6 separate regions of the Homo sapiens genome follow, and all the other regions are linked to region 1. The links are contacts of gene promoters, found by promoter capture Hi-C in blood cells and fetal thymus (Javierre and others, 2016). All regions are on one chromosome and are shown on one strand. The core of a region is centred on a gene start or on the middle of the fragment in contact, and the rest is flanking DNA. Distances in the headings are between cores, read along the strand shown.

Region 1 (3,451 bases), core at 1-2,500:
CCCTTTTATCTGAGGCCTTCTTGGAGCTTTCTGTAGTCATTCTTGTTTTGTTTTTGAGACAGAGTCTTACTCTGTCACCCAGGCTGGAGTGTAGTGGCATGATCTTGGCTCACTGCAGCCTCCATCTCTCCAGCTCAGTGATCCTCCCACTTCAGCCTGCTGGGTAGCTGAGACTGCAGGTGCACACCACCATGCCTGGCTATTTTTTTTTCTTTTTTGTAGAGACGGGGTTTCACCATGTTGTCCAGGTTGGTCTCGAACTCCTGAGCTCAAGCGATCCTCCTGCCTTGGCCTCCCAAAGTTCTGGGATTACAGGCATGAACCACCACACCTGGCCACCAGTATCACTCTTTTTTTAAAAAAATTTTATTTTTATTTTAAGTTCTGGGGTACATGTGCAGAATGTGCAGGTTTGTTACGTAGGTAAATGTATGCCGTGGTGGTTTATTGCACCTATCAACCCATCACCTAGGTATTAAGCTCAGCATGCATTAGCAGCACTCTTAACACACAATTAAACTCACATGTAATGAGATTACTTCTCATTACTCCACACCATAGTAGTCTATTTTACAGATGAGGATACTGAGGCTCAGGGAGGCTGAGAGATTTACCTGGAGTCAATCAATTGTTGATCTGGAAGCATCCGATCACCAGGTCTTCTGAAATAATGACAGCAGCAACAATTAACATTATGCTTACTATGCCAAATGCTATGCTTAGCATTTTACCTGCATCACAATCGCGATTCCTTTGGGCAGTTAGGTAGGTTCCATTTTAACCGAATTTAAAGAGGAGGAAGCTGAGGCTCAGAGAGGTAACTTGCCCTAGGTAACCCAGGGTAGTCAGTTAAAAAGTCAAGACTCAGACCTCGATCTGACTAACTCCAAAGAAACCCGTGCCACTCTGCCTCTCGGAAAACACTGCTTCCAGCTGCACAGTTCAAAACCCCACCCAAGGCGGCCCTGAATCGCGGTCAGTCGGCTTCAGCCGAATCGCACTTTGTTTTGAACAAGGATACAGAGGGCGCTGCCTGATGTTAGTCTGGGGGCTTGGGGGAGAAGATGGGGGTCCAGGGTGGAAATGTAGGTGCTGGGGCTGTGCCAGAGGGAGAGTGTCCGGGACCAGCGGGCGAGTCACGTGCGCGTGAAACTCGACCTAAGGGGAGGGGAAAAGAAGGGAGCCCCCGCCCCCACCTCGGGGCGCAGCTCCGGACGCGTGTAAATACAACTATCAACTCCGCAGATCCACTTCATCCAAGCCCAGCTTCGCAGACCTCTGGCGCCCGGCGGGTTCCCAGTTCCCCCGCTTCTTCCGAGGAGACAGCGGAGGCGAGGCCACCGGGCTGTCAGGCTGAAGCTCCGTGGCCGCCGGGTCCTGCACGCAGAGAAGACCCCAGCGCCGGCGCGGCTCAGGGCTGGGCCCACGGGACTCCGGACGCGCCGCGAAAGCGTTGCGCTCCCGGAGGCGTCCGCAGCTGCTGGCTGCTCATTTGCCGGTGACCGGAGGTGAGCAGCGTGGGCGGGGAGGGGGCGCGCGTAGGGTCTCCGGCTATGCGTCGGCTGAGAGACACCGAGGCCGGCTCCCGCCGACACTGCCAGGCTTCCCAAGGAAAGACCGTTACTTGCGCCCGCGGTCCCGCGGCACAGTGTCCCATCTCGCCAAGCGCGTCCTTCCCTTTTCTTTTCTCTGACCCCTCCGACTCTTCTCTTCCTCCCGGGTCCCCGCTCGCTGCACTTCCTCTGCTTAGAGCTGCGCGTTTGCCAGAGTTCCAGCGGACCTCCTGGAGCGCTTGAACCCAAAGCCCCGTTTCACAGATGAGAATACCGAGTCCCCCTGGAAGAAGTGACTGGTACTTCCTCCCCTCTCTCTGGGTCTTTCTTGCCCTTCTCCTCTCCGCTTTCCTCGGTCTCATCCCAGTTGTCGCTCCCCGCCCCCGCGCCGCCCGCGTTCCCTCTCCTCCCGCCGAGGCTGCAGCGGCCGCGGCGGGGGGAGCTGGGGCTCTTTCCCTCCCTTTGGTAAACACACCCGCCCGCCAGCCCATCCGCCACCGCTGCCCTTATAAAGTCAGCAGCCGCCAGACTTCCTGCCGAAGTCCGAGCCCCCTCCCGGGGCTGGAGGGGGGCAAGCGGGTTCCGAGGTGCAAAGCCTGGTGCCCCGAGCCCTGCGGAGTGAGTGAGGGGCGCGCGGGGGAGGAGGGAACCGAGGAGAGCCCGTCCTGGGTCTCCCTCCACGTGGCAGCTGTTGGCTTGGCCCGAGAGACTGTAGGGTCGTGGGTCACCTGATACGGAAAGGGGGAGGGCTTGCTGTCGCCCGGCCCCAGAGGGAAGGAGAGGTCTTGGAGGGGCAACTGGAAGATGGGGTCGTAGGGTAGCCTTGAACTTGCCCTTCTTCCTGCCAGCTTCTAGGGGTCTTTCCTGGCGCGAGAGTCCGGACATGGGCCCGCGGTGCTTCAGAGCGCGCTCTGCCCCTTGCTGTCCTCTGGGGACCTGGGCAGATGCGGACTTTCTCCCCAGCAGCCCGGCCCTGAGCGCCCTGGCCTGGGTGAGAGAACCCGGCAGCCTGCTAGGAAGCTGCAGCGCGCAGACAGGACCTTCCTTGTTTCCGATAGTGGCTCAGCGGGAGCCCCGTGCCGCGTGCACCTCTGGCACTGCTAGTGCGCGCGGAGCCAGCTCCTTGGCACCGGCTGGGAAGCCCAGGGCTCTATGGGGCCTCCATGAGGGGCTCCTCGCGGGCTGGCCCGAGAGGTCTCGGGTGCCACCATGATGCAGGACCCTTCCCTGGGGCCACTGGGGGGCCCTTCACCCAGCGCTCTGTTTCTGTGCAGGCTCGGGGCCAGCATGGCCCCCACGCTGCAACAGGCGTACCGGAGGCGCTGGTGGATGGCCTGCACGGCTGTGCTGGAGAACCTCTTCTTCTCTGCTGTACTCCTGGGCTGGGGCTCCCTGTTGATCATTCTGAAGAACGAGGGCTTCTATTCCAGCACGTGCCCAGGTATGCCTGAAAATGGGCTGGGTGGGCTGGGGGGAGGGATGGCAAAGGGGCAGGTGGAAGCCAGAAAAGGTTAGGTGGCCAGGTGGACAGAAAGCAGGGTCAGCAGTTGGACAGCCTCACTTCTCGACCTCTTCAAACTTCAGGGGGAGATTGGGTGGCACTCTGCCCACTGTTTCATTTATCTAATCCAGTGGTCACTGAATGCCAGGTGTCCTGCTGGTCATCCAGACCCTGGGACTAATAGGCAGAGTCCTAAGCCTCTGACAGCCTCAGGTCTAGAGCTCTTTGAAGGAGACGTGCTGGGAGAGGAATTTCTTAATAGGGCTATCATAAGACAAGGGAGAGCTGCACAAAGTGGAGTATGAATATAAAGGGCCCCACATCCTTCCCTTTTCAGGAGCTGGGAGCCCCCAGGTTTTCAAATTACTCATTTGGACAAAGTTACATAGCCTCATTT
Region 2 (3,451 bases), core at 685-3,184, 1.1 Mb before region 1:
GCATGATTACTTATCCCTGTCCTGGGAAGAAACAAGAGGGAAAAAAGATTTGTTTCCCAGAAGACAGCCATCTCTCCAGCAAATAATCCAGTCCCAGGTTCCCTTATGATAAATCAATCACACTTTTTAATAAAAGAATGCAAACATAGAGATTGGAAAGAAGCATTACATTGAAAGAGCACTAGGCTTTGGATTCAGACAAACCTGGATGCAAACCCAGACCTTGAACAAGCCATTTAACCCACTTCCCTAAAAGAACACCTTATTTTGTGCCAGGCACTCTGCTGGGCATTTTATATCCAACAGCTCAAGCTTGAAGAGGTTATTATTGTTCTCATTCTGTAACAGATGAAGGAAGTGGGACTCAGGGAAGAAAGCCGTGAGAGTGGGAGGGCTCAGCTGATGAAATGACAAAACCCAGATTTCAATTCAGGTCTTGAGAAGCACCCATTCCTCTGGCCAGTGCTGCCTCTCCCCATACAGGGTGGAGAGAAAAGACTTCTGCTCCAAGCACACTGTTAGAACCAGCTGGAACCAGGAGCAATCCCATGCTCCTTTCCGTGAGCCTTCTTTAATTGCAAATGCCCTAAGAGGGATAAAAAATCAAGACACTGATACTGAATAGAAAGGAGAAACACCACACATAGATCAGTGAATGGAAATTGTGCTTTGGCATCAAAGAACCTGGATTCAGATGCTAGCTCTGTTGTGTACTGTGACCTTAGGCATTTTACCTGACTTCTGTGGGTCTTAGTTTGCAAATGTGCAAAAGTAGAATGGTGAGAGGGTAAATGAGATTATAAAGCACATATTTCAGAGGCTCATTTAGAGCAGTAGCTAGTCTCAGAAAAAGGAGGAGCCCCTAGAGGGTTCCAATGATGAGGCCTGCGAGGATGCTGGGGTTTCAAGGCTGCAAGCAGGCACTGAACATGTCCGTGCAGGGGGAACTGCTGGACAGCGGCTAGAAAAACCTAAGTAATGCAGAGCTCGGGCTGGCATTGCAGCAAGTAACCACCTCTTTCCAGACCATGTGCACATGGTGCCAGGAGGGATAGGGTCATAGAAACCCAGGCAGAGCTTGTTGACCACTGGCTCAACTACACCAAAGCCTGGGCGGCTCCATCAGTGCTAAGCTCCGCTTCCTCCCCAGCCTTAATGGTAAGTTCTCAGCCAAGTGCCAGAACGTCAAGGCGTACAACCCGGGGTTCCATCAGGTTGTAGGTCACAGCCAGAGTGCAGGTCCACCACAGCATCTACTCTCTGAAGGTCCCAGAAACCCCTGATATTCAGCCCTGCTTCTCGCAGCATGTGCGGACCCTCAGCAACCACCTGGAGAACCACCCAGACCCAGGAGGCCAAGTACCTGGCAGAGATGCTTGTGCTCAGGTATGGCAAGCATGTCCTCACCCACGTGGAGGCAAATACTCGTCACTGGCAAGTTTTTTGTGCCTCAGCTTGGTCCTCTTTAAAATGGAGTTAGTGTGTCAAATTCCTAGGTTACTTGAGAGGATTAAATGAGCTAATGGAAGCAAAGCACTTTGGAACACTCTCTGGCCTTTCTAAATGTGAAAGTTCATATCTATGACGATTTGCTGCTGCTTTAGGATTGAGATCCCAGAGTCAGATCACACAGACCGAGGCTCAAGTCCCAGCACTGCTGCTTACTGGCTCAGTGACCCTGGGCAAATTGTCCCACCACTCTGGGAATTAATCTCTTCTCTAAAGTTGGGATAATATTAAAATTGATGTCATAAAATTACTGTGATGATTAAATGAGATACTGCAAGGAAACCCTTCCCCATAGTACCTGGCCTGTCACCTTGAGCTGTCATGATGTGGAATTGACCATGATGATCATTCTGATGGTGATGTGAGGACGTGAGTGGCAGAGTTCTATGTACCATGAAGAACATAAAGATGTCCAACCAGGGCTCATGGTTGAGTGGGGCAGATACACCTAATATATAAATTACTCATTGTGAAATGTGATACAGCTTCAAACATTTTCTATGGGAAAATGAAGGAGGGATACAAATTCTGAGAGATGTCTGATAAGGCTTCTGGAAGAGGATGGAATTTCTGCTGCATCTTGAAGATTAGATGTGAGAAAGAAAAGAAGGACTTCCCAGAAAGAAACAGAGTTTGATCCAGGGCTGGGAGCAGGAGCACCAGACTCCTTCTGGCCTCAGCCAGACACACATAGATTTGTTCAATTCTGCTGGCCTGGGAGAATCCTTTCAACAGCAACTGGAAGCTCCATTATGATGGCCTCAGTTCATTTCTTTGAAAATATCCCCAGGCTCCGGAAACTGAGCTCCCTGACTGAGAAAGGTGAGGTGGGGGCCAAGGCAGAATAGGTTTTGGCCTGAGGTTTAAAAAGAAAGGTGGGAGAGAAGAGAGAATGGATTATCTTATAAGTAGAGTAGTCATATAATTTATCATCCAAATCTGAACTCCGGTTGAAACCAAAAAAAAAAAAAGGTGTTTTAATTATATGGGACAATGCTCATAAACTGGAACGTATGACATCCACCTTGATATGACTGTTTGTCATTGGGCCCTGACCTCCCTTGTCATCCTGATCTCTAGCTAGCCTTCAGATTCCCCCTCCCATGACACACTCCCAATATGTTCCACACACTGATCCCCTGATGTGTCATGGTGATTCCTGGCTGTGCCTTTGCCTGATGAAGTCTAACTCATTAATCAAGACTGGGTTCAGATGTCAGCTCCCTTGAGAATATGTCTTTACCTGCCCCTCCTTCTCACACACACATACTCCTTCAATCTCCCAGGAAGAAAGCATCTCTTACTCCTCTTGACGACCACCCAACCTTAGCAGTATGTTTATATGAGCATGTCACTTGGCATGAGTTCTTTTTCCAATTTGACTAAGAGCTCTTTTAGTGTGGGGAGGGTTGGTGTTGTCCTTATTGTAGTTACTGCCAGGGCTCAGCCTCAGAGCATCAGACAGAACTCTGAGATAGGTGCTGTAAATTTTAGAGGTATGTGCTCTAAAAGTTAGCTGAATGAATGAGAGAAAACCAGAAAGAGGTCTTATGAAGCCTCAGGTGATAGGAACCAGCTATTGGATTCTTTTAAATGACCTGCCCCTCTTGGATTCTTAAGTGTATTATTATTTCATTCATAAACCCGTTTTGAGCCCCATTTTTGTCCATTGTAAGTGCTATCATAAATACAAAGATGAATAAAACTTAGTTTTCACTGCCTCAAAATATTCTAGGCAAGTTGACCAAAAAATAGTAAACAACAGAGAAGGCAAAGGGGGAGGTGGTAGCATGTGTAACCATATGGTCTCCAAGTTCCTTTTAGAACCCTGGGTCACCGGGTGGAGGGGCTGCAGTAATTCCACCCCAGCTGATGATAGCATGGTGACTGCTGGGCTACTGGCCCAGAGTTGTTCCTTGGACGTTACACATTGTCTTCTCCG
Region 3 (3,451 bases), core at 416-2,915, 1.1 Mb before region 1:
AGGAAAAAACACACCATTATCTCAATTGATGTAGAAAAAAGAAAAAGAACCTGACAAAATTAAACTTTCATGATAAGAACACACAAAAAACTGGGAATAGAATTGAACTTCCTCAACTTGACAAAGAACACCTTTAAAAACCCCAGAGCTCACATCATACGCAGTGGTAAAAGACAAAGCTCTCCTGCTAAGGTCAGGAACAAGACAAGGATGCCCTCATTCTTCACTTCCATTCAACACTGTACTGGAAGTTCTAGCCAAGTAATTACTCAAGTAAAAAAAGAGGCACCCAAAGTGAAAAGGAAGAAGTAAAACTGTATCTCTATTTGCAGGTGAAAAGACCTTACATATAGAAAATTCTAAAGAATTTTCACAAAAGAAAACTGTTAAAGGTCATATACAAATTCGAAGGGCCAGAATATAATACCAACACGTAACATTCATTGTTTTAAGCATATTAGCAATGAACAAAAAGGAAATTAAGAAAATAATTATTACCTTTATTCAAAGTGCCAGAATATATGACCAACATATAACATTCATTGTTTTAAGTATATTAGCAATGAACAAAAAGGAAATTAAGAAAATGATTACCTTTACAATAGAATAAAAAGGAATAAAATATTGAAAAATTGTTAAGATGACAATACTCTGAAAATAAACCCACAGATTAACTGTAATTCTTATCAAAACCCCAGCTTCCTTTTTGGTAGAAATTGACAACCCAATCCTAAAGTTCACAGGAAAATGCAAGGGATCTACACTAGTCACAGCCATCTTGAAAACAAACAGAATTAAAGACGCACTTTTTTCTTCTCAATTTCAACACTTACTATAAAGCTTCAGTAATCAATACAATGTATTACCGGCATAAAACTAATAATAATTGAATCAACTAACTGAATTAAAGGTCCAGATATAAATCTATACATCTGTGGTCAACTGATTTTTAAGAAGGTGGCTAAGACCATTCAGTAGGTGAAAACAGTCTCTTCAAGAAATGGTGCTAAGACAAATGGATATCCACATGCAAAAAATGACGTTGTATTCCTACCTTATACCATATATAAAAATTAACTCAAAATGGATCAAAGACCTAAACACAGGAGCTAGCACTAAAAAATGCATAGAAGTGAAGATAACCCTACAGAATGGGAGAATATATTTGCAAGTCATATATCTGGTAAAAGTCTAATATCCAAAATATATAAAGTCTTTGGATTTAACAACAAAAAGAGAAACAACCCAATTAAAACATGGGCAAAGAACCTAAACAGATTATTTCTCCAGAGATATACAAAAGGCCAAAAAAGTACTTGAAAAGATACGGAACATCAGTCATTAACGAAATGCAAATCAAAATCACATGAGATTACCATTTCCCACATACTACAATGGCTAACTAAAAATAATAAAAAAAGAAAATAAGAAGTGTTGGTGAGAATGCAGAGAAATTGGAACCATTGTTTATTGCTGGTGGACATGTAAAATGAGGCAGCTAATGAGGAAAACAGTGTTATGGAAAACCTAAGAAAACAGTGTTAAGAAAAATGTTAAGAAAAACTTAGACACAGAATTACCATATGATCCAGCAATTCCACTTCTAGGTACATACACCAAAAATTGAAAACAGCTATTCAAAGAAATACTTATTACATATGAATATTCATAGAAGCACAATTCTCAATACCCAAATTGTGGAAACAACCCAAATATCCATTAACCAGTGAATGGATAAACAAAATGTCATATATACATACAACGAAAATTTTTATCCAGCCATAAAAAGGAATGCAATCTTAACATGTTACAATGTGAACCTTAAAAATATGCTATATGATAGATGCTAGAAACAAAAGTCACATATTGCACATATTGTATGATTCCAATTACATATAATATCCAGAATAGGTAAATCCATAGAGACAAAGCAGATTAATGTTTGTTGCAGCTGAACAGGAGGGAAGGGGGAATAACTGCTTTTAATGGGTACAGGGGTCTCCTTTGTTGGTGGTGATGAAAATGTTTGGAACTAGATAGAAGTGATGGTTGTACAACACTGTAAATGTACCAAATGTCACTGAATTGTATGCTTTCAAGTATTTTTTACTATTTTTTTGTTATGTGAATTTCACCTCAAAACACACACACACACACACACACACACACACACACACACGTGCACAAAAGTATTGCCAGGTTTCTGGAATAGAAATTGACAACTGAAGGACAATCCATACATTAGCATAAACAATCATAAACAGATAGGAAACAAGCCAAGTTTCTTCTGTGTGGTACTTCAAAGACAATTTCCAGTTGTTTCTTATAATAGCAGCTAACCTTGAGGAGGTTCCTTGATACATAAATAATAAGAGAAAAAAGCCATACTAGCTTGGGTAAAGGAAGACATCATACTAGTCACTGCATGAGCAACATGCAGGCACAGTGAATATAACTACAGTTAGTTAACCCTTGAACAACAAAGCTTTGAACTGCATGGATCCATTCATACGCCAGTTTTTTAAAATATGTAAGAAAATTTTTTGGAGATTTGTGACAATTTGAAAAAACTTGCAGACAAACTGTGTAGCCTAGAAATATTGAAAAATTAAGTTATGTCATGAATGCATAAACTATAGATACCACTCTATTTGATGACATTACTGTAAAATATACACAAATATAAAAAGTTAAAATTCAACAAAACTTACACACACAAAGTCTTAGACTATATATGGTATCATCCAAAGTCCAGAGAAATGTAAAGAAACGTAAAGATGTACTAATGAATAACTGCATAAAATTAACTCCGTACATAATAATTTCATAGCTATCTCCTGTTGCTATTGCAGCAAGCTCAGCTGTTTCAAGTATCTGCTTAAAATGTCATGAGGATAATCATCACCACCTGAGTGAATTTACTGTCACAGTAGAAGTGGTATCTCTCAGTTAACTCATTTTTCACTATGTTTAGAGCAATACCTGAAACCTTGACTAACACTACGGGACCCATAAGAGTTGCCACTAGTGATACTGGAAGTGCTTCCAAGAAGCAGAGAAAAGTCACGGTATTACAAGAAAAAGTTGAATTGCTTAATAAGCATAGAAGGTTGAGGTGTGTAGCTGCAGTTGCTCACCATTTTAAGATAAATGAATCCAACATAAAAAGTATTGAAGAAAAGGAAATTTGTGAAGCCACTGCTGCACCTACAGTAGCAGGTGCAAAAATCTTGCAGTTTTTGCAAAATACTTTTATCTCACATTCAAGATGCAGCTTTTATGTGGGTACAGAATTGCTATAAGAAAGGCATACCTACAGACTCTAAGTAAACTCATTATATGACAACTTAAAGCAAAAGAAAGGTGAAGAAAGAATTTAATGTCAGCAAAGAATGGTTTGATAATTTCAGAAAGAGATTTGGCTTTAAAAATGTCAAGATAATAGGAGAAA
Region 4 (3,451 bases), core at 597-3,096, 1.1 Mb before region 1:
TAAGATGAAATGCATCTACAGCAATTAGAAGTCTAATTGCAGCTGAATCTGTAAGTACAGATTTTTGCTGTCGACAGAACTGCAGTTCTTACAACAAATTCTCTAAATTATGTTAACTTAGCTGACATTCAAAAATTTGAAAGCATATCTAATACCACAATATGATTACCTCTGAATTTTATTTCTCTTTCTGAGAGGCTTCTAAGGCAAGCATGCCAAGACACAGGCTTAACTCTTAATTTTGGACCAAGTCTGTTTCAAGTTTTAAATCTATTAGGTCTGGTGTAAGTCAAACCTTGCCACTATCTCTACTGGAAGAAAGGGAACACTTAAAACTGACTCCCCCTCACTTCAATTTTCTCTGTTTTTACTAATCTGTTTTCACTCAAAAATCAAAGGTCACTAATGATGTTTTCAGTCATGAATTGAATAGTCAATGTGATTAATTTCTAGAATTTACAAACTTGTGTGCTTCAGTATTCTTAACATGAGTATTATTTTAACGAACAATTTAAGACAATGCTCCTGGCCACCTGTTCATGTTTCCTCTATTACGTCTAGGTAATAAAGGAATTCCTCTCAGATGATTCTAATTTCAAGGATGAAGTTCCTACATTTAAAAACACGAAACACAAAGATAAAACATATGCTACTTAGTAAAAACAAACATTAAAGAATGCTCATATAATTTTATATGAAAGACTCCATACTTAAAATCGTAGCAGTGGGCTTTTAACCTGACCATAATAAGTGGCAAATTTCTCAAAAGAATGAGAAGGGTTGCGAAAAATTTAGAAAAGTGAAAAAAAAAAAAAGCTACATAAACACACTAGTACATCTGGCTCTTGAGCTAACGCGAAGGCGGGGGGGAATCATTTTTGAAGGCTATGATCGGGCTGTGTATTCCCTAAAGGGCATGTGATGTAATACTGGAGAGCCGCCTAAAGGAAAGGGATAGGGTGACAAAGGGGGTGCGGATGCCAGAAAGAGGGATGAGCCTGCGGGTGTCAGGGAGGAGGTGGATCACTAGCGAGTGCAGGGGTGTATCAAAAGATGATTTCGGGGAGTGGGGAAACGGCCCGACAAGCGAAGGTACAGGAGCGAGATGAGGGTGGCGCAGAGAGGAGGCACGAAGGCTCCCGGGGAAACGGTGTGACATCTGGCGTGCGGAGCCGGCAGGGGGCAGACCAGGCAGGATGTCACGTGGAGTAGGCGCTACGGGAGCCGAGAGGGTTGCGTACGGACAGAGGGGGGTCTTTCCCACCGCCTGAAAGACTGTTACTCACAGGAGTCGCGGACTCTTCTTGCCCTGAACTGGAGACGGGGACTTCGCGGCCTGGGGCTGCTGCCCGGGGACGTCGGGAGGCCTGGCGCTGGGGCTGCTCCTCCGCCGGCGGGGATACTCGGCCTTCCTCCGGCGGGACACAGCTGCGGCGGCGGCGGCCGCAGCGGCCCGGCCTCGGTCCCGACCTCCCCTCAGCACGCGGCTGCTAGTGGTCCCTGCAGGCGCCGCCGCGACCGCCTCAGGGGGCCGTTGTTGGGGCTCCTCCGGAGCCGCCTTGGCCGCCTCTCCCCCTTCCTGGTCCTGCTGCTCCGGGGGTCTCGGCTCTTCCGTCTCCCCCGGCATCGGGGCTTGTCCGTCCCCCACCCCCTAGTCCTAGGCGGCGGAGGCGGAGGCGGCGGCCTCGGCGCTGCTCCCCCCGCCCCCTCGCCTCCCGAAGCCTGCGGCTCACTCTCACCCTGCGCTCCTCTTTCCCCCCTCCCCTCCGCCCGGCTCCGAGGGCGCCCCCCCCACCCCCTGCCACTCAAGGTCCGCTACCGCTGGCGGCGCGCGCGCGCGCGCCACAGACGCTCAGCGGGCCAATCGGAAAAGAGGACAAGCCTCCTCACCCCGCCCCTCGCAGTCTTACACGCAGCGGCGCCCCAGGTTCCCTCCCCCACCCCTTCCTTCAGCCAATCAGGAAACGGCTAAAAGGGGAGCGCGCGAGGTTTCCTTCCCCGCGCACCCGTTCTCACCGTTAAACGGCTGTGTCTCGCGACAATCCCAAAGTGACCTTTTTCCCCCCTCCAGACTTCAACGCGCGCTAGGGGCAGTGCGAGGGGCAGGTCTCGCGAGGGAGGCGGGTGAGAAGAAATCGCACCTCTTTCCCCGCCTCACGCAAACCCTAGACTGGCTGCGCGCGCACCTGCCTCCCTGAGGAGCCACTGATACCACAAGGGCTCTTTCTATTCTTCTTTAGGCCGCAGAAGTAGCCTGGGCGTTCTTCCGCCTCCACCCTACCCCACTTTCCTGTCTTTGGCCTTTCTGTCCCCAGCGCCGCCAGATCTTGCGCGGAGAAGGGGGTAGTATTTTGAGCTGTCGCTTCTCCTTTAAGAAAAAAAGCCCCGTCGGTTGCCGGATGAAAGTCTCTGAAAAAATGGCGGCGGCAAAACGGAGGCGGGGTTGTGGGGGCAACGAGGGCCCGCCTCTTGGCGCATGCGCACCGTTAACTTAACCAAGGGCATTCTGGGAGATGAAGTCTTATTTCGCCTAGGCTTTAGGAAAAATAGATGGGAAACCAGAGGTGGAGAGGATGCCGGGAGGTTCTAACTGAGTCACGACGGGAAAGGTAGTTTACTTTCCGCAGTCTAGAGTTTACCTTTTTTTCGGGAGGCAGTGTTTCCGGGTTAGGTCGCGACGCGTGCCGTACATCCGGGCTCAAGCGTCGAGCCAATTGCTGGTCTGATGGGAGGGTTTTTCCTACTTTTTCTTACTTTTTATCTGGGCGTTGGCGTACCTTTCTCGGGGTGTCTGCGTAACTGCCCAGACTTGCCTTGGTTTGGTCAGATGACACCTCCTCTGGGACTGGCTAGCCAGCGTTCATGTCTACATTATTGATCTCGTCTTCCGGTGTGTGAGTCACTCACCTGTGAGCTCCTAGAGGTCAGCGACTAAATCTGGTTCCATGGGGTCCTTGGGCCCTCGGAGCCCTAGCACAAGGCCCACTACTCAGTTGGCTCTTAATCAAATCTGTGAAACGAATTATAAAGTTGCTTTTCTACTAGACCTTGTTGGGACACCAAGGAGCCGGCGTCGGTTGCTTAACTTGGATGCGGTGCCTGACCTAGAGGGAGGCGAAAGGGTTGTGAGCGTGACATGACTGGTGACCTACACCGAGAAGCTGAAGGGTCTCTTAAGCTCTGCGGCCGGAAGCCATCTGCTTCTGCGGTTTATACAATAGCAACTTTATCAGAGGTTACTTTTCTGCACGCTAGCGTATGACATTAATTTGTCTTCCTGATTCATCAAAGGGAATTTCCGTTGCAGTTGGTGATGCAGTGGGCCTCTCCCATTTCTTTTTTCTTTTCATCCATTACAATCAAGGAACGATTTGCAAGAACATCCTTTACCCCTGGAAAATAAGGCATCCAGGGCTAAAAGTCCCAAAAGAAAGAAGCTGGAAACAAGATC
Region 5 (3,451 bases), core at 372-2,871, 1.0 Mb before region 1:
AAATATAACAGAGAAATAAGTAGGGGAAAAAAACCCAGCACAATGAAGCCCCTTGCTTAAGTCTGGATTCTTTTAGATGCATCTCTTGTGATATGTGTTACTGAAATCTCTGAGCAGTGAAGTAAGTTGCTGCTGATGACATAGCCAAGCATCTTTACTATCTTCAAAAGGTCAGGGAACAAATCAAAGGTTCTTCTCTTTTCAGGAACATTTCCTGCAGTGGGCACTTTAATTTGTAATCATTAACTCTTCAAGGTCTCTCATTTCTTATGTAGAATTTTATACTGTTGACTCAATAACTGTTGGAGTATTATAACAATGATCTATTTCCCTTTCTACACTGCACTAGGACTCTAGTTAAAAACCAGTGGGAATTCTTTGAATAAGCACAAATTTGCCCCAACTGTGAGATTGGAAGGTTTTTTAGGAATATACAAGCCCTGCTAAGAAACTGCATTTGTTCTGCATTTGGGCATAGGGCAGCAGAATGTGTTCACAGTCCTGCTGCCTTTTGTATTCCCAAGGCATTTGCCTGTGGCAGCAGCTACGAAAGGATTATGACTGATCGAGCTGTGAGAAAAAGCTCCAGTGTACCTTCTGGGAAACATCCACAATGGATTGAATCAATTACTTGCATACTTGACTGGTTTTGCTCTCAGATTAAAACAAAAAATCTTGCATCTAGTAGAGGGCCATGTTGTACCTAAAAGATAAATCTTTTATCTTAAGAGATATCCATTTTCCTCTTATATTTTCCTTGTTGTTAAGTGATCAAAAATAAGTGGACATGAGATATGTCGTATCCAAAAGATAGTCTTTTCTTCTTAAGAGAGAAAAGTATCAACTTTTCTTCTACTTTTTTTCTGGCTGGTAACTACATAAAGATAAGTAGTAAATGTATGTTTTCATTTTTGAAAATATATTAAGTGAAAGACAGAACATTTACTTTTATTTATGACTTTGCATCTTTGTGCAGAGAGAGAGAGAGAAAAGGCTTGAGTAGTCGTGAGACAGAGGGTTTTGGTTTGGTGGGTTGTTAGCTAAGCTCTGTTGATTAATGTTGATTACAAACATGATTCCACAGTCAGTTACCTTTTTATACCTTTTGGCCCGGTGATTTCCCTTCTTAAAATTTAACTCTTATGTAAATGATCAAACATGGGTGCAAATATTTGTTTGGCAGTATTGATTATAATAATGAAAGTTAGAAAACAATCTAGGTGTCCAGCAATAAATTATTAGTTTGATAAATTATATAATACATTATCTATTTGAAAATATATAGCCTTTAAACATTATTTTGGCAGATAATTCAGGACACACAGCACAAACTTTGCAGTTTGCAGGCCCAAGCTCTTTGTTACTTGCCAACTGTATTATGTACAAAAAAGTTTTTAACTTCTCTAAGCCCCAGTTTTTCATTTGGAGGTGATAATACCTAGCTCTTAAGGTTGTTATTATAAAAGATTTAAAGAGAACCTGTGTAAAGCTCTGTATAGAGTGTCAGGCATAGTGCAGACAGACATTCAATAAATGCTACCTATTATGGTTGCAGAAGATAGAAAAATGTTTGCATAAGAGTAGGAAAAATGTATAATTTTAGTTTTCTAAAATTACACACAATCATAGTTAAGTGTAATGGTATCAGCCAAAATGTCCAGAGTAAATGCCTCCTGAAAAGGGGATTATATGTGTTTAAAATTTTTTCTGTATATTTCTCTGCAGTTTTCAAATTTTCTACACTTAACATGTGTTAATTTTATATTTTAGAACAATTTTAAATAGAAAGCTCTACACTGTGACTATATTTATGTACTTTACTGAAGATTGTTTGTAGAACCATTGTGTGTGTATGTGTGTGTATAATAACTGAGATATACAGGTGAATTGCATTACTGATGTCTCATCTGACACCTCCACCACTTCATCTGTTGGCCATGTGTGTTAGCTATTTTCCTAGTATAGATGACCTGTGTTTTGTTTTGTTTTAAAAATATAACTTAAGATACAAAACTATTTCATAAACTCATGTGCGTAAAAAGTCGAAGAATTTGGAAATGTATACATAGGGTGAAAATTGAGACCACTCCTCTTAGAGTCTTTCCTCTCACCAACTCATTACCAGCTCCACAGGTAACTGCTGTCAGGTTCTTCTCCTTACAGACTTATGTGTGTGCATATTCATACTTATGTACATGGGCTTATAAATTTATATAAATGGAAGTAAATTTTTTTCTTTTTTAAATTTGAGATAGGGTCTGTCTCTATTGCCCAGGATGGAGAACAGTGGTGTTATCTTGGCTCACTGCAGCCTTGACCTCCTGGGCTCAAGTTATTTTCTCATCTCAGCCTCCCAAGTAGCTGGGACCACAGGCATGTGCCACCACACCCAGCTAATTTTTAAAATTTTCATAGAGATGGAGTCTCCCTATGTTTCCCAGGCTGGTCTTGAACTCCTGGGCTCAAGCAGTCCTCCTACCTCAGCCTCCTGAAGTGCTAGGATTACAGGCATGAGTGACTGCACCAGGCTGGAAGTATAATTTTCGTATTGTTCTGGGCTTTTCTTTTTTACACTAACAATGTTTGTTGGAAGTCTTTTTTAGTTCACTTAAATCTATGTCTGCTTAGCAGTTGCATGTTATTCTATAGCATGGATGAACCATTATTTATTTTACTTTAGCTCCATTGGTTTATTTCCAATTTGCTCATAGAAAATGTACCCTAATAAATGTCCTTGCACATATATTTATATATATATGTCCAATTTTTCTGTAGGATAGATTCTTAGTAGCAAAATTGCTCAATCAAGTGGTATATGTGTCTGAAATGTTGATAGATACTGCCTTGCAAAAGTGTTTATAAATTTATATAACCACCTATGGTATATATAAATGTGTATGTGTATATATATAAAATTCATATTTTGCCAACACTGCATATTATCCCTCTGTTAAAATTTCAACTAATAGGTAAATATTAGTATCTCATTGCTTTAAATTGCAAATTTAAAGATTAATGAGGTTGAGGGTATTTTTATATAGTAATAAACATTTGAGTTTCTTTTTCTGAAACCTGCTTTTTAAAAGAATCTTTAGCTCAGGTTTCTATTTTTCTAAATTATTTATACATTTCTTTAAAATCTTGAATATTATGTTTTAAATATTTATTTATATTTAAGTTTTGTGAACTTAGCTGTATCAATATTTTTTTCATTTTTGAAATCACTTCAGAATTTTATGTCCATCTTAGGAAAACCTTCATTACCCCAAATTGTAAAATATATTCTTCATTTTTCTATTATCTTTACATTTAAAAATATTGATATCTATCTTTAATTTGTCTCAAATTTATTCATGTATTTGGTGTGTTGGGGATCCATATTTATTTTGTACCAAATAGGTTGTTATTCTTTGAGTCGAATAGTCTGTTTTGGATGATTTGAAATGCCCCA
Region 6 (3,451 bases), core at 414-2,913, 1.0 Mb before region 1:
CAAGCCTCAGCAATGGTGGATGCTTCTCCCTCCACCAAATTCTAGTATCCCAGGTCGAGCTCAGACTGCTGTGCTGGCAGTAAGAATTTCAAGCCAGTGGATCTTAGCTTGCTGGGCTCCATGGGGGTGGGACCTACCGAGCCAGGCCACTTGGCTCCCTGGCTTAAGCCCCCTTTCCAGGGGAGTGAACAGTTCTGTCTCGCTGGCATTCCAGGTGCATCTAGGTTATGAAAAACAAAAAACAAAAAAACTTCTAAAGCTAGCTCAGTGTTTGCCCATACAGCCGCCCAGTTTTGTGCTTGAAACCCAGGGCCCTGGTGGCGTAGGCACAAGAGGGAATCTCCAGGTCTGCGGTTTGTGAAGACTATGGGAAAAGCACAGTATCTGGGCCGGAGTGCACTGTTCCTCACGGCACAGTTTCTAATGGCTTCTCTTTGTTAGGAGAGGGAGTTCCCTGACCCCTTGTGCTTTCTGGGTGAGGCAACACCCCACCCTTTTTCGGCTTGCCCTCAATGGGCTGCACCCACTGTCCGATCAGTCTCAATGAGATGAACCGGTTACCTCAGTTGGAAATGCAGAAATCACCTGCCTTCTGCATCGATCTCACTGGAAGCTGCAGACCTGAGCTGTTCCTATTCGGTCATCCTGCCAGCAATCTCCAAATTATTTATTTTATTGCTCATGTCATCAGTTTGATATACAGTTAATTTTCTTCAATTTGATTCAATTTTTTAGGGATTCATGTTTTTCCATTTTAATTTTTTTACTTTTTTTTTTTTTTTTTGAGACAGAGTCTCACTATCTCCCAGGCTGGAGTGCAGTGGTGCGATCTCGGCTCACTGCAAGCTCTGCCTCCCGGGTTTACGCCATTCTCCTGCCTCAGCCTCCCAAGTAGCTGGGACTACAGGCGCTCGCCACCACACCTGGCTAATTTTTTGTATTTTTAGTAGAGACGGGGTTTCACCGTGTTAGCCAGGATGGTCTCGATCTCCTGACCTCGTGATCCACCCGCCTCGGCCTCCCAAAGTGCTGGGATTACAGGTGCAAGCCACCGTGCCCGGCCAATTTTTTCACTTTTTAATTATGTACAACAATAGTTGAAACCATACATATACTCAGGAGTGGAATATAATTAGCAAATATTTTCTTCAGATTGTTATTTGTCTTTGTTTATGGTGATTTTTTGACATGTGTAAGTCATTCAGATATATTTTTATGTAGCTAAATTTATTAATATTTAACTTGCTTTTGGAATTTGGGCTTTATTTATGACAGTTTTTCTGTTTCCAGATTAAAGAGGAATACATCATTAATGACAAGATATGAAATGCAAATGCACACATTAAAAAAACCCTAAGTATCATTAGCCTTTCGGGAAATACAAATCAAAACTACCATGAGATAACATTGTATAGATAGATAACATCCATTTGATTGATTAAAAAGGAAATATATGGATATATCAAGTGATGTAAAGACTGAGGAATAATTGGGATTTTCATACACTGCTGGTAAACAATAAAAATAATATACCCACACAAAAAATAAAAAAAGGAGGAATACATCTATTTTTAATTCAAATATATGGTATGAGTCATTGTGTTTAGATCTTGCATCCATCTGGAAATTATTATTTAGTAGTATTTTATTTTAAAATATCAGATGCTTTTTTTCTTCCCAGATGCTGTTTTAGATATTAGAGATATAATGGTGACAAGATCAACAATATCTAGTTTCTCTCAGAGCTAATGTTCCTGTAAGGGGAGACAGCCCACAAAGATGATTTTAAATAAAGGTAAATGCCATAAAGACGGTGAAAGAAGATGATGTGACAAGGAGGGACTGAAGAGATGCCTCTCTGATAAGATGATATTTGAGTGATTCTTGCATCACATGAAGAGGACAACTATATCAGGCTCTGGGACAGAACTATCCAAGCCAAGGGAATACTTAGTACAAAGGCACTGAGGAGCAATAGCCCCTAACACTTATTAAATGTTTACTATGAACCAGACACAATGCCAAAACACTTCCTCTGCATTATCTCATTTATTTCTTACAACTACCCTTTGAATTAGGTAACAGTAATCATCCTATTTTGAATATGAGGACACTGAGATTGAAAGGGCCTCCTCTCAGTCTCCAGTGTAGCTTTCAGGGCTCAACCTGCAACAGTGAATTCCTGATTTTATCTCTCCAGGCTTTCATGAGAAGGACAAGAAGCCATATTGCCGAAAGGATTTCTTAGCCATGTTCTCACCCAAGTGTGGTGGCTGCAATCGCCCAGTGTTGGAAAACTACCTTTCAGCCATGGACACTGTCTGGCACCCAGAGTGCTTTGTTTGTGGGGTCTGTATAATCACTTTTCTTTCGGACTTAGGGAAAGTCAAGGGTTCTCCTCTCTGAGAGGAAGAGCTGCAGTTAGTGAAAGGGTTCACAGTCCTGAATGAGGAATGGATGTGCGCATCCTAAAGGAGAAACGAGATACAGATCCATTTGCTTGTCTGTTTTGCAAGCGGGAAATCTAGTCTCCATTTGTCAAGAACCTGAGGGAAATTCCTGTAGCTGGCAGGTAACTGTCAGGAATTTCAAGGCTGAAAATTTTACTTTGCTGACATTTTACCTCTTGACATTTGCATTCTTTTTCTCTCTCTTCTCTCTACCCCAGGACTGCTTCACCAGTTTTTCTACTGGCTCCTTCTTTGAACTGGATGGACGTCCATTCTGTGAGCTCCATTACCATCACCGCCGGGGAACGCTCTGCCATGGGTGTGGGCAGCCCATCACTGGCCGTTGTATCAGTGCCATGGGGTACAAGTTCCATCCTGAGCACTTTGTGTGTGCTTTCTGCCTGACACAGTTGTCGAAGGGCATTTTCAGGGAGCAGAATGACAAGACCTATTGTCAACCTTGCTTCAATAAGCTCTTCCCACTGTAATGCCAACTGATCCATAGCCTCTTCAGATTCCTTATAAAATTTAAACCAAGAGAGGAGAGGAAAGGGTAAATTTTCTGTTACTGACCTTCTGCTTAATAGTCTTATAGAAAAAGGAAAGGTGATGAGCAAATAAAGGAACTTCTAGACTTTACATGACTAGGCTGATAATCTTATTTTTTAGGCTTCTATACAGTTAATTCTATAAATTCTCTTTCTCCCTCTCTTCTCCAATCAAGCACTTGGAGTTAGATCTAGGTCCTTCTATCTCGTCCCTCTACAGATGTATTTTCCACTTGCATAATTCATGCCAACACTGGTTTTCTTAGGTTTCTCCATTTTCACCTCTAGTGATGGCCCTACTCATATCTTCTCTAATTTGGTCCTGATACTTGTTTCTTTTCACGTTTTCCCATTTCCCTGTGGCTCACTGTCTTACAATCACTGCTGTGGAATCATGATACCACTTTTAGCTCTTTGCATCTTCCTTCAGTGTATTTTTGTTTTTCAAGAGGA

What was found. Contacts are between HindIII fragments. The CHiCAGO score rates a contact against its expected background, and 5 or more counts as called.
Region 2: a fragment that was not itself captured here is called in contact with the fragment with the promoter of SLC43A1 in region 1 in 2 of 17 cell types (activated CD4 T cells and naive CD8 T cells); the score reaches 5.7 in activated CD4 T cells.
Region 3: a fragment that was not itself captured here is called in contact with the fragment with the promoter of SLC43A1 in region 1 in 5 of 17 cell types (non-activated CD4 T cells, erythroblasts, total CD8 T cells and 2 more); the score reaches 8.7 in non-activated CD4 T cells.
Region 4: a contact is called between the fragment with the promoter of ZFP91 here and the fragment with the promoter of SLC43A1 in region 1, in 4 of 17 cell types (naive CD8 T cells, non-activated CD4 T cells, naive CD4 T cells and 1 more). The highest score is 14.0, in naive CD8 T cells.
Region 5: a fragment that was not itself captured here is called in contact with the fragment with the promoter of SLC43A1 in region 1 in 1 of 17 cell types (neutrophils); the score reaches 5.7 in neutrophils.
Region 6: a fragment that was not itself captured here is called in contact with the fragment with the promoter of SLC43A1 in region 1 in 3 of 17 cell types (total CD4 T cells, naive CD8 T cells and naive CD4 T cells); the score reaches 7.5 in total CD4 T cells.

What each region holds. Positions count from the first base shown.
Region 1 is chr11:57,513,501-57,516,951 of GRCh38, reverse strand. SLC43A1 (solute carrier family 43 member 1) reads left to right here and starts at 1,250. Exons shown (of 15, transcript NM_003627.6): 1 at 1,250-1,508; 2 at 2,828-2,994. The coding sequence starts at 2,841. RefSeq lists an enhancer at 1,027-1,096. The HindIII fragment of the contact is 5,778 bases long and covers 1-3,451 here.
Region 2 is chr11:58,636,807-58,640,257 of GRCh38, reverse strand. No RefSeq gene overlaps it. Among named protein-coding and RNA genes, the nearest start is that of CNTF, 16 kb to the right of the region's middle. The HindIII fragment of the contact is 3,239 bases long and covers 315-3,451 here.
Region 3 is chr11:58,597,478-58,600,928 of GRCh38, reverse strand. The region is part of intron 2 of ZFP91 (ZFP91 zinc finger protein, atypical E3 ubiquitin ligase); the gene reads right to left. The region is part of intron 2 of ZFP91-CNTF (ZFP91-CNTF readthrough (NMD candidate)); the gene reads right to left. Among named protein-coding and RNA genes, the nearest start is that of ZFP91-CNTF, 20 kb to the right of the region's middle. The HindIII fragment of the contact is 1,645 bases long and covers 843-2,487 here.
Region 4 is chr11:58,577,458-58,580,908 of GRCh38, reverse strand. It overlaps ZFP91 (ZFP91 zinc finger protein, atypical E3 ubiquitin ligase), which reads right to left and starts at 1,846. Exons shown (of 11, transcript NM_053023.5): 1 at 1,287-1,846. The coding sequence starts at 1,627. ZFP91-CNTF (ZFP91-CNTF readthrough (NMD candidate)) reads right to left here and starts at 1,795. Exons shown (of 13, transcript NR_024091.1): 1 at 1,287-1,795. It also overlaps a transcript of LPXN not described here. RefSeq lists enhancers at 777-1,468, 2,213-2,442, 2,162-2,854, 2,473-2,992, 3,013-3,092 and 1 more and a silencer at 1,373-1,792. The HindIII fragment of the contact is 10,569 bases long and covers 1-3,451 here.
Region 5 is chr11:58,558,673-58,562,123 of GRCh38, reverse strand. The region is part of intron 3 of LPXN (leupaxin); the gene reads left to right. Among named protein-coding and RNA genes, the nearest start is that of LPXN, 15 kb to the left of the region's middle. The HindIII fragment of the contact is 8,448 bases long and covers 1-3,451 here.
Region 6 is chr11:58,526,941-58,530,391 of GRCh38, reverse strand. LPXN (leupaxin) reads left to right here. Exons shown (of 9, transcript NM_004811.3): 8 at 2,201-2,349; 9 at 2,669-3,451. The coding sequence ends at 2,938. Among named protein-coding and RNA genes, the nearest start is that of OR5B21, 21 kb to the right of the region's middle. The HindIII fragment of the contact is 4,221 bases long and covers 1-3,451 here.